Regions from separate parts of the Homo sapiens genome. Here regions 2 and 3 are each linked to region 1. The links are contacts of gene promoters, found by promoter capture Hi-C in human tissues and cell types (Jung and others, 2019). All regions are on one chromosome and are shown on one strand. Each heading gives the region's core, a stretch centred on a gene start or on the middle of the fragment in contact. The rest is flanking DNA. Distances are from core to core; before and after follow the strand shown. Region 1 holds the start of FKBP1C (FKBP prolyl isomerase family member 1C). Region 2 has its middle 51 kb from the start of FKBP1C. Region 3 has its middle 34 kb from the start of FKBP1C.

The links. The method cuts DNA at HindIII sites, captures the fragments that hold promoters and counts their contacts. A contact is called where the count stands out against the background at its distance.
Region 2: a fragment that was not itself captured here is called in contact with the fragment with the promoter of FKBP1C in region 1 in 2 of the 25 tissues and cell types used here (heart right ventricle and thymus).
Region 3: a contact is called between a fragment that was not itself captured here and the fragment with the promoter of FKBP1C in region 1, in 5 of the 25 tissues and cell types used here (bladder, hippocampus, mesenchymal stem cells and 2 more).

Annotation. Positions count from the first base shown.
Region 1 is chr6:63,209,029-63,213,189 of GRCh38, reverse strand. It overlaps FKBP1C (FKBP prolyl isomerase family member 1C), which reads right to left and starts at 1,721. Exons shown (of 1, transcript NM_001395980.1): 1 at 163-1,721. The coding sequence starts at 1,633. The coding sequence ends at 1,307. The HindIII fragment of the contact is 10,095 bases long and covers 1-4,161 here.
Region 2 is chr6:63,158,733-63,162,893 of GRCh38, reverse strand. No RefSeq gene overlaps it. Among named protein-coding and RNA genes, the nearest start is that of FKBP1C, 51 kb to the left of the region's middle. The HindIII fragment of the contact is 8,263 bases long and covers 1-4,161 here.
Region 3 is chr6:63,243,736-63,247,896 of GRCh38, reverse strand. No RefSeq gene overlaps it. Among named protein-coding and RNA genes, the nearest start is that of FKBP1C, 34 kb to the right of the region's middle. The HindIII fragment of the contact is 4,699 bases long and covers 1-4,085 here.

The DNA.
Region 1 (4,161 bases), core at 472-2,971:
ATTCAAAAGAAACCATAAACAGCAGTTCTATGAGTAATTAGGCTGGTTCCATACCATATTTTTATTTATATTTAGTTATTTATTTAATTTTTTTATTTCCATAGATTTTTGGTGAACAGGTGCATACTGTATTTTTATTTTATTTATTTATTTATTTATTTATTTTTTGAGAAAAGCCAGCATAAAGCACTTTTATTGCAATAATAAAACTTGAGACTCATATATGGTGCTAGGGGAAGGGGGCAGCAACGATTCCTCTCACCAAATCACTACACAGGACAGCAAAGGGGTGAGAAGTGGCTGAGGGAGGAAAAGCCAGGAAACTCTGAGATCAGCAGAGGGAGCCAAGCATCAAAAAACAGGAGATGCTGAAGCTGGGATGACCAGCATCATTTTCTTAAGAGAACATTCAAGGATTTGTCATGATGGCTGGGCTTTCACTGGGTGTTAAGTCTACAAACAGCACCTTCAATTGAAACTGTCAATTAAAGTTCTTAAGATTTAGGAAGTGGTGGAGCTTGGAAAGTTATGAGATTACAAAATTCCTGAAAGTCCGTTAGAAAAACCACAGGATGAAAAAAAAAAAAAAAAAAATAAGGCCACAAAGAAGGCTTCAGAGGTCCCTGCTGGCCCAGGGACAGATACCTGTAGTGTCCAGCATCGCAGTGAACATGACCTGCTTTCAAAGGCAGAGGGTTTAAGGGGAGGGTGGGGTGGGAATGGTGGAGGCAAAGCCTCTCCCCATCCCCACCTCAGTTTTAGGTAGGGCTTTTAATTTAACCCAAGGACATCTCTCAACTTGGAGAATAATTCAGTCCTCAACAGTGCCTCAAATCTGCTATGGTTTTGCAGCGCAGCAGCAAGAATGTTTAATATATAATAGATAAAAATTTCATCCAAAAAATTAAAATAAAATATTCTTGCAACCCCCTCAACACCAATTCCTATCCTAACGTTAACTTATCACTTGTGCTGTTAACACTTGACCATGTACTTAATTGGAAACCTATATTCAAAAGACTGAAACTGAATCTTCACCCCAAAATGAAAAAGTAAAATGAATAACTTGACGTTTATGGCATATAGTTTAGGTAAACGCACATACCAGGAGAAAGGGGAAGAGGAAACAGAGGTGTCGGAAGCAAAGCTGAGTGACAGAACACATTCAGTTGGGGCAGATGTCTATACAAAGTGGAGTGGAACATCAGGAAAAGCTCCATATGGATTTATGTGCACACGTCTGGAGGCACCAGATCCCTCCATGGCAGATCCAAGAACAGGGAGCTAAGGGAGGAGGCCATTCCTGTCATTCCAGTTTTAGAAGCTCCACATCGAAGACGAGAGTGGCATGTGGTGGGATGATGCCTGGGTGCCCAGTGGCACCATAGGCATAATCTGGAGATATAGTCAGTTTGGCTCTCTGACCCACACTCATCTGGACAACCCCTTCTTCCCAGCCTCGGATCACCTCCTGCTTGCCTAGCATAAACTTAAAGGGCTTGTTTCTGTCCCGGGAGGAATCAAATTTCTTTCCATCTTCAAGCATCCCGGTGTAGTGCATCACGCAGGTCTGGCTGCGCTTCGGGAAGGTGCGCCAGTCTCCTGGGGAGATGGTTTCCACGTGCACTCCCATGGCGGCGGCCGACGCCGAGCGGGCGGGCAGCGCGACGGGCGGCGTGGACCGACAGCGACCTGGCGGCGGTTCCACGGCTCTGCCTAGTCCCTCAGCGCGTTGCCTGCCCATACTGTATTTTTAAAATCTACAAATTCTATATTAGTGCCTTCTGGGCAAGTGTGTTGAATGAGTCACTTAAAAATCTCTAAATAGGTTTTTTTTTTTTTTTCCCGTACTGGAAGTGTTACCATTTCCTTGTTAACTTTGTTAACTTTGTGTTTGGTCTCCCATTATCTGTGGCGGCTACGTTCCAAGATCCCCAGTGGGTGCCTGAAACCACAGAACCACAGATAGTACAGAACCCTATATATACTATATTTTTTCCTGTACATACATACCTATGATAAAATTTAATTTATAAATTAGGCACAGCAAGAGACTAAAAACAATGACTAATAATAAAATAGAACAGTTATAACAATATAAAAGCATCATTACTCTTGCACTTTGAGGCCATTATGAAGTAAAATAAGGGGTACATATTAAACACAAGCTCTGAGCTACCTTACAATTGATCTGATAACCAAGACAGCTACTGAGTGACTAACAGACAGGGAGGGTATACAGTGTGGAGATGGTGGACAATGGGATAATTCACGTCTCAGTCAGGTGAGAGTGGAACGGGATGGCTCGAGATTTCTTCACACTACTCAGAATGGTGTGCAATTTAAAACTTATGAATTGTTTATTTCTGAAGCTTTCAATTTAATATTTGCAGACCACTATTGACCATGGGTAACTGAAACTGCAGAAAGCAAAACTGTGGATAAGGGATACTATTGTATATATCTGGAGTTTGATTTAAAGGTCTAAAACAGATCTCTAAAACTTTTGCTCAAATGAATTAACTGTTGTCCATCTAAATAGTATGCTACGATTAGCGTAGCCACTATTGTCAGGTTTCTGCCAGAAGTATCAGTGTAGAGAGATATTTTAAAGAAAAAAGGAAGGATGTATATATTTGAAAGTTGTCCAGTACTTTGCATATAAACTCACAGTTATATTTTTCTTTCTGTGTGTTCTATTATGTTCATGTTAACTTAGAAAGAAATATGCTTTGAGTCTGGTTTACAAAGAACGATATAGATTCAGTAGTCTAAACTTAATGATTTACATACAGCTTTTTTAGTGATAGAAAACACTAGGTAAGTTAAGAAAGTTTAAGAGAAGCTGCTATTGTTCTTGAAAGCATGTATATTTAACTCTTTCTATGTGAAAAGAATGTTTTTGCATTCTTTGTTGCTGTAGATGTTATGTGTATATACCTTTTACTTTTGTAATTTTTAAAAAACAGTGGAATTATAAATTTCTTATCAACTTGTCTTTAGGTTAAATACATTTAGTGTAGCCTCTGCTTGCCATTAGGGCTAAGAACCTAACTACATTTGAAATAGAACCATAGTCGACTTACACTGCAAAAATTTTTTATTAGAATTCTTCTGATAATACTTCACACATTTCATAGCCATCTATATGCTAATATTTCCAACAAATTATCAGATGCTATTTCTACATAACCCTTTTCTCAACAAATGACCTGTCATGTTCATAATGGCCTCATTTTTTGGTGGCAGTTTTAATTTTATCTAGCAAAAAATTGAAAGCTCACAAAGAAACTAATTATATAGTTTCACAGTTAATAATATGGTTTCTAGTTTTAAGACTTGTAATGTGCAAATTTATCTAGTTAAGTTTTCTAAGAGTCGAGGCTGCTGTTTCTTCTTTTAAAATCATTTACAAACCCTTTTTGAAGGAAAGTAGAAATTTTCATACTGTGGTCTTACAAGGATTGAGTGCTGATTTTACATTGTAGTTATTGATTATTTTGTAAGCATAAACTCATGTACATCACATTTCCATTACACACACAATGTCTCGTTAAGTTTCCTTCTTTGAAGAATTAACTGCTCTCCAAAATGTAATCAGAAGGAAGGCATATCAACTGGGAATTTATTTGGGTTATTTACCAATAACGCCAATAGTACTTATTACCTGAAAACTTGGGATTTTGAACAATATGATTCTTAAGGTATGTTGTTTTTCTGACAGAAAATTCAAGATGTGGAGAGTTATTTTATCTGTATCCAGGGTTATCTTAGCAAAGACACAATTATTAATAATTAAATTGACTAATAATACAAAACTGATATTATTTCATGTGATTTTGTTAACAAATAAATATTTTAAAACCAATATTAAAATGTAGTACTTTAACACTTTTTTCGTTTGATACTATCCTTTGACAACTTGAAGAAGAATTTAAGATAGGAAAATAATAAAAGTAGGAAGGAAGAAGGTAAAAGCAGTTTAGTGAGCAAGAGATTGATATATTAGAAATGTTACACATAGGGAAACTGAAAGAACAAGCTAAGAAAAAAGCCGTTGAGGAAAACGAAAAAAATAAGATTGAAACAAATTTGAGGTTTACTACAGTCTTTAGGTGAGATATTCTATTTTGTCTTAAGTTACAGAGATCTGAATATTCC
Region 2 (4,161 bases), core at 448-2,947, 50 kb after region 1:
GCTAAGAGTAAAAATATCTGTAATTTTATAGAAAAAGCAGTTGTATATTTTGCTCAATTTAGCAAAATAATAATTTAGATAGTCTTGTGTGGATCCTACTGTAAGCAGCAAAAGGCAGAAGCAACTCCTTTACAGTGGGATGGTATTTTCATTATCAGCCAGATGAACACACTGAAAGTTTTCTCTTGCTAGAAGGGAAGTTATAATGGCCCATGTGTTAGAGAGTACTTATTTGCTGTAAAAAGGCACTTGTGGTTGATTAAACACATCAGCTTCATTTTGCATTTAATCAAATGCAGAGGCCATTTATTACTCTGAATACTTCAGTATCCTGGATATAAGACCTTGATTAATTTACACTAGCTAATTGAAGAGCATTTCAGGTGCAACTAATTATAACAGAATAAATTTTACTCCTAGACTCCACTCCAAAAATTTCTTAATATATGAGCATTAATGAGAACTGATGTCCATCCAGGAAGGCCATGCTGTATTTGATTTGGATAATCAACTTGCAGCCATCTATAGTTTAAAACTAACATTCAACATAATCTATATCATCATTTTCTTCTGATGTTCATAGATGCTCAACATTTTGTGTTTTCTAAAAATATGCACAATTCTGATGTTTTAAAATAAGATAAAAGAGTATTTGACAGTACATTTATTTTGTTCTCAAAATACAGTAGCAGTCTCATTTCATTTTTAATGCTATAAAATGAAGGTAATTTCTTTTATTCCTTCAAACTGCAGTTGTGAAGGAATCTTTGGCCTTCTACAAATCTTTGGCCTTCTACATTTAGTGTATTCTTTCTTTAAAAATGAACTTTCTACCAATTTTGCTAATATATAGTACAGCTGGCACTTAATAAGAATTAAGCAGATAAAGTATGTACATTTAAAAGGGAAATTTGGGAAAGAGATGTCACTTTAAATTATTATATTAGGCTATTTTCAATACTGTGTCTTGGAATTATGCACCACCCATACTTTAGGGACTTCTCTTACAAAGATAGGATGTAGTATGTGGAAAACTAAATAATACAAATAAAGCTACATATAGAGTCAGGATAAAGCTAACAAATTTTATCATCATGATGACTGTATTTTATCATAAAAAATTTATTGACCATATTTATTGAACACTGTGAAGATTAAAAGGAAAAAATGAAGTATGTTAAATAGGCTATTGAATTTTCAAGTAAATGAAGTATGCTAAATAAGAAATTGAATTTCAAGAGAAGTACTACAGGAAAATGATTTGTGTGTATGGATGTATATAGCTAAATCTTTTCTTCAAAAAATATGTCCATGGCTACTCATATCTAAATAGACATCTTAATCTCAGCCCTTGGAAGAAATTGAATTCAAATTAAATCTGATCATCTAGAAATAGCAAAGAGTAACTGCTTTTAGAGGTTAAGATAAATTCCAATAATTAAATATCTCTAGAATCTAAATTATGGCACATGTTGAAGCTGCTTATTCTATATTTAGGCTCGTATCTGATACTATGTCAAAGTTAAATTCCTGACTTCTTAATCACTTCTAACATTTTCCCTCTTTCATTTTTTCTGAAGACCTCAGTATGTCAGTGGATGATACTGTTGTTTGCTTAGCCAAAGCCAATCCTTTTACTTCCTTGCTATGGAAACTCTCTCTTATTTGGGTGGCAGTGTGTCCAGTGCCAGGGGATAAAGCACTGTGTGTCTATTTCAGTCATTATAATTTCCTTTTTTCCATGCTTGGTCTAGGTGTGGAGATGCAACTTGATTTCTGACCAAATAGATTTAAGGATAAGGCTGATGGGAGATGTATTAGGTAACTCTTGCTGCGTAACAGACCTCTCTTAAATGTAGTGGCTTTAAAAAACTAAACATTTATTTAACTTATGGTTTTATGATTTGACTGGGTGTTTCTTCTGGTGAAGATTGGCTCCACTGATATGGCCTGGGCTTGCTCATGATTCTGTGTTCACATGGCAGGTGGGCGGGTGGTTGTATGATCTAGCATGACCACATTCACATGTCTAGTGTTTGGCAATCTGTCAACCAGGGCAAAATGAATAATTAGGCCCCATGTCTCTCACCATCCAGCAGACTAGGGCAGGCATTTTCACATGACAATTGTAATATTTAATAAACCAGGAGTTGAAATGTGCAAGTTTCTTGAGGTCCAGCCTTGAAACTCTAACAGCATCACATATGTGCATTACATTGACCAAAGCAAACCACAGATAGCACAAATTTTTGGATCGGGGAAATAGGGTCCATCTCTTGATAGAAGGAACTGCAGTGAACTGTGGCCATTTTTACCATCCACCACAGGAGGATGCCTCTGGGAAGATATTTTTTCTTTTCTGTTTGAAAGAGTTACTCAAGTGAAAAAATTATGTTCTACTTCACCTCTTTCTTATTGCTTTCAAATGTCTTAGGACTTGATGGTTGGAGCCATCACCATAAGGAGAAGGCCAAGAGAACCTCAGATATGTGACACCAGGACCACAATATTATTGAATAGTTGAGTATCACTGGATCCTCCAACCTCTAGATTTTTAAGTAAAAGACTAAGTGCAGCATTTAAGCCAGATTAAACAAGCATTTTATTGCTTTTGGCAACCAGGAGTGAGATGGTATAATACAAGCATTATAATTGACATTAGAAAATGAGTCTAAGCTAAAATGATTCTATCAAAACCAACTAGATGGGAGCTTTTTGCTCTGCCACATTGTGTAGTTCCTGATCTCATCCTGTCCTTTCATGTGAGAATAAGCACCTTCCTCATATCAGGAAGATTACAGATTACAAGTGTTTCCCATTACAGCTGAATGTACTGCCTCCATTCGTTTTCGACAGTTTGATTGCATGTGATTAAAAACAATGTGTAGGCTGGGTGTGGTGGCTCATGCCTGTAATCCCAGCACTTTGGGAGGCTGAGGCAGGAGGATCACTTGAGGACAGGAGTTCAAGACCAGCCTGGCCAACATGGTGAAACCCCATCTCTACTAAAAATACAAAAATTAGCCCGGCATGGTGATGGGCACCTGTCATCCCAGCTTCTAGGGAGGCTGAGGCAGGAGAATTGCTTGAACCCAGGAGGCCGAGGTTGCAGTGAGCTGAGATCATGCCATTGCACCTCCAGCCTGGGCGACAGAGCAAGACTCTGTCTTGGAAAAAAAAATGTTTATTTTTTCTTCAAATTTTCTTTACATGTATCCTAAATATTGTTTATTAACTGTTTTCAAACAGTTATATAGTATATGACTGTTATATACTATATTTGTTATTTATATATAACATTTATATATAACAAATATACTATGTAACAGTCATATACTATATAACTGTTATTTATATATAACAAATATACTATATATTTATATCGTATGTATATTATATATATAGTATATTTGTTATGTAGTAACAAATGTTATTGTCTCGTTTACTGAGAAGATATATTAAAATATCCTATTGCAATTATGGATCAAATCGGGCTTATAACTGCCAAGGTATTTGTTCAACATTGGGAGTCAATATTACACGAGCATACAACTTTAGACATTTTTTTCTCTCATGTAAATTTTTCTTTTTATGCTTCCATAGTTACATTTTTTTATTTTGATAGCAATTTCTCATTCATTTATAGTACAGAAAGTTAAATCATGTTGTAGTGAGTGACCTCTTGCAAAAGACCAACGGAACCATACCTTTTGTCAAAAAGGTTGTAATAAATTCTGGTAATAAATACATGGTCTTAGACAATACAAAAGAGAAGAAAAGAAAATTAGTTTGCAAAGTGGAATACTATGTTTATGTTCTGCAAACTTAGTACTATTTTCGTTGAAAGTGTGTTTCATTCTATTGCTGCCATACTGAAAATAAACATTTTATATTTAATCCTTCCAATTATAGACAAGCCAAGAATTTTTATAGTAGCTTGTTTTCTTATAGAAATACACATACTCTCAGCTTCTTTGCAATAGACATTGTCTTAGTTTTATCAAAATTTTATATCAATTTTATTAAAGATATTATTTTAAAGAAATTAAATTTGAGTTTACATATTTTTTATATTTATTTTTTTCTTGGATGCAGAGTTATTTGATTTTTCCCCAATATACCTCTTATCTGATGAAGGAGAACCTATATAAAAATTATTGG
Region 3 (4,161 bases), core at 487-2,986, 35 kb before region 1:
TCTCCTTAAGCAATCATTGATCTGCTTTCTGTTGCTATAGGTTAATTTACACTTTCTAGAATTTTATATTAATGGAATCACACAGTGTGCACTCTTTTTATTTGCCTTCTTTCATTCAGCATAATTATTTTGATATTTAACAGATTGCTGTGTATACCAATAGTGGATTCCTTGTTATTGCTCGGGAGTGTTTTGTAGTCTGGATAGCCTACAATTTATTTATCCACTTACTTACTAACGGACATTTAGGTTATATAAAGTTTTTGGCTATTACTTATAAAACAGCTATGAAAATTTGTAGTTAATTCTTTGTATAGATGTGTGCTGATTTAATTTCTCTTTTATAAATAGGAGTGGAAGGGTTGTGTTATAAGAAAAATGTATATGTGCATGTACATGCACAGAAAATATCTAGAAGGATACACATCAGATGGTTTATGGAGCTATAGCTAGCAACAAGAAGTGTAAGGAAAGGAAAAAAGGGGGCTTAGACTATGCTTTTTGTTGTTGTTGTTGAGACGGAGTCTCGCTCTGTCGCCCAGGCTGGAGTGCAGTGGCGCAATCTCAGCTCACTGCAAGCCCCGCCTCCCGCGTTCACGGCCATTCTCCTGCCTCAGCCTCCCGAGTAGCTGGGACTACAGGCGCCTGCCACCACGCCCGGCTGATTTTTTGTATTTTTAGTAGAGACGGGGTTTTACCGTGTTAGCCAGGATGGTCTCCATCTCCTGACCTCATTATCTGCCCGCCTCGGCCCTCCAAAGTTCTGGGATTACAGGCGTGAGCCACCGCACCTGGCCTATTTTTTGTTGTTATCTATATTGTTTGAAATGTTTAAGATAATATGTTCATGTATTTCTTTTGGAAAAAATTTTCCCAATATTATTGAATTCTTGTAGAAAAAAATAACTTTTTAATGCAAGACTGAAATTTCTAGTCTTCAGCTCCTTTCCCCTGCATTGAGGTAGCTCTTTAAATTACAAGATTTTAGACAGGATTTTTAATTAAGTTGAGATTTCATAAGAAAACATTTTTAGTGTTAGAGCAGAATGAGCTTCCAGGTTTTGCATATGTAATTTTCTGTATGTGTGTATGTACATGCATATGTATGTGGATTGGAATGCAATTAAAAATTTTTTTTCAAGCATAATTTAGGGAAATCAGTCTGCAAAGATAGAAGCTTGAAGAGCACACTTGCTGTTTAGAGGAATAAGGATAACCCATGTATTTATCTTTAAATTATGCTCATCTCATTAAATTAAACTGCTTTATACATGCCAATAAAATGTCAGGTATGGCTAAAATAAGATAGGACAGATAGAGGAAATAGTCCTATTTTCAAATTGTACACCTGTTTTAATTGGAGAAGGAAAGGACTTTTCAATTATTTAAAGAAAACCTCTGAAAATAGGGATTCACAGCATGGTAGTCATTGAGCATAAATTCTCAAAAAGCCACAGCTCATTCTGACCACCAAGCCTTCTAAAAGCAAAGTGCAAGTAAATGTAACTATAACATATTTCTAGAGCAATTTCCTAGAGGCAGTGGGATATGAGTCTGGGGGGTTTCACTGTTAGTTCTTTTACTTAGTTTGTGACCACTTAATATTAGTTTTATTTTTTAAAGAAGGGATAAATAATAAATTCTGATGGGTCATGAGAATTGTATGCATACAATAACAAGACAAGAACAGAAAACCAAACACTGCATGTTCACACTTATAAGTGGGAGCTGAACAGTGAGAACATATGGACACAGGGAGGGGAACAATACACACTGGGGCCTGTAGGGGGATGTAGGCAGAGGGAGAGCATCAGGATAAATAGTTAATACTGCTGGGCTTAATACCTAGGTGATGGGTTGATAGGTACAGCAAACCACCATGGCACACGTTTACTTATGTAACAAACTTGCAGGTGTCCTGCATGTGTATCCTGGAACTTAAAATAAAATAAAATAATCTCTCTCTCTATATATAAAATAAGTTAAATGAGAAAAAATACATAAAGTATATCTAATGCTTAACATCATAAATAACAGCAAATATTTAGGATTGCCAGATTTCCTGAACTTAAAGTAATCACAAGTATTTCTGGATTCCTAGAATATTCCAGGGAAAAGCTAAATACTCCAAGTCGCCATCTACTGCACCTCTGGCCCCATATGTTTCTGTCCATATTGGATGAGTTCCAAGACGAATTTCAGTATGAGAGGTAGCATGATGCAATAGTTAGGAACCTGATAGTATAGGTCCTAAACCTGAACTTGCCACTAAATAGTGTGTGAGTTGGATCAATATTTACCCTCATGACTAGTTTCCTCATCTACTTCCCCCATTTGAGGATTGTGAAGATTCACTAAGTTAATATGTGCTGTTGATGTTTAGGACAGTGCCAAGCTCATTGTAAGAGCAATACAATGTTTGCTGTTAGCTTGCAGTTTTTACCAAAATTGAACCATGCTATTATTGTTGCAGTGCCTCACTATGGAAGGAGAAAAAAACATTTTTTTTTTTCTGCCTCTACCACATATACTGTGAGCATTACTCTAACATCCTGATCCCCAAATAGAGTACATCGTCCTTTTAAGGATACAGAGAGGACTTTTGCGTGACAGTCCATCTCCAAGTAACTTCATGCATCCCCTTTCTCCCGAGGAATTAGACACGAATCAGCAGGGTCAGTCTTTCCCTTTAAGTAGTGTGTAAGGGACAAACTCAGCTGCCTATTTGTCTCTATCCCAAATGGTATGGGAACTGGGGATGTGTTTTTTTTTTCTTTTTTTTTTAAGACTAGGTCTGGTTTTGTTGCTCAAGATGGAGTGCAGTGGCACAATCTCTGTTCACTGCAACCTCTGCCGCTTGTTTTCAAGTAATCCTCCTACCTCAGCCTCCTGAATAGCTGGGACTACAGGTGCGCATCATCACGCTGGGCTATTTTTTTTTTTTTTAATTTTTTTGTTGAGATGGGCTTTCGCCATGTTGTCCAGGCCGGTCTCGATTCCTGGGCTCAAGCCATCCACCCATCTCAGCCTCCCAAAGTGTTGGGATTACAGGCATGAGCCACAGTGCCCAGCCACATCTTTCATGATAACTATAAAATGTGTACAAGCATGACATATCAAGCATTGGGAAAAAATATTAATTTATGACAACCTTCCAGACTCCCTGCCAGAATATTGCCCATACTTAGTGAGCATGGTTTCCAGATATTGGGAACATAATTATACAAAAAATTATTCCTTGTTTATAGGAAATGCAAATATAGCTGAGCATCTTTCTATTCACTAAATCTGTCAATCCTTTTGGGAGAGTGAGAGATGCAGTTTTATAGGATCACTCAGCCATAGAAGTTTAACTGAATATAAATATACCTTGCGAAATGGGCTCTTCAAGAACTTCAGTGTCCCCAGGTAAACTGTGCTGGATTCCTATTGTATTAGCTTTTGCCAAAACGATATAAAGTGAGCTTGAAATGTTCTTAAATTTGGCAAACTCAACTTTTGGAGGCCTTTTAGGTGTCTATAAAAGAATAGAAGAAAAATTCTTTTAATAGAATCTTTAAGTTTCACCAAAATCTGTCTTGCAAATGCCCCCATTAGCAGCAAAAGCTCTCTTCCCCTTCAGGTGATTAATATCACATTCCCTTTTACTCCTTCATGTGCTCATTCAACACAGGACTTGAATTTTATTTATGACTTTTTGCTTTTTTAATAGTGATGCAGAATATCTAGTTAAGAAAAAAGAATCATATAAGAAAACCAAAAACTTTAAATTAATTTTCTCCAGCCTCTCGACAGAGCGAGATTCCATCGAAAAAAAAAAAAAAAAAAGAGAAGAAGGAGAAAATAGATCTGGGTGGAGAGCTAGTAATCTCTGCCCCATAATCTTAGGTTTCTGACAGTACTAGTTGCCACAGCCTGTACCTTCAGGGAGCCGCCCAGTGGATTAGTTTTACCATTTCCTCTCAATTCTCAAACATCACACAAAATATAAGGAATATATCCATATATTTCTTTAATTCATAGTGTCACTCTTATTCTCAGAATACTGGTTCTTTTGCTACCATCGGCCATTTACTTACTTCTGTTTTCTCTTCCAACAATTCCCACCAAGCCAGGCACAGTAATTATCAATACATATTTTTTTTGTTGTTGAAATAAATA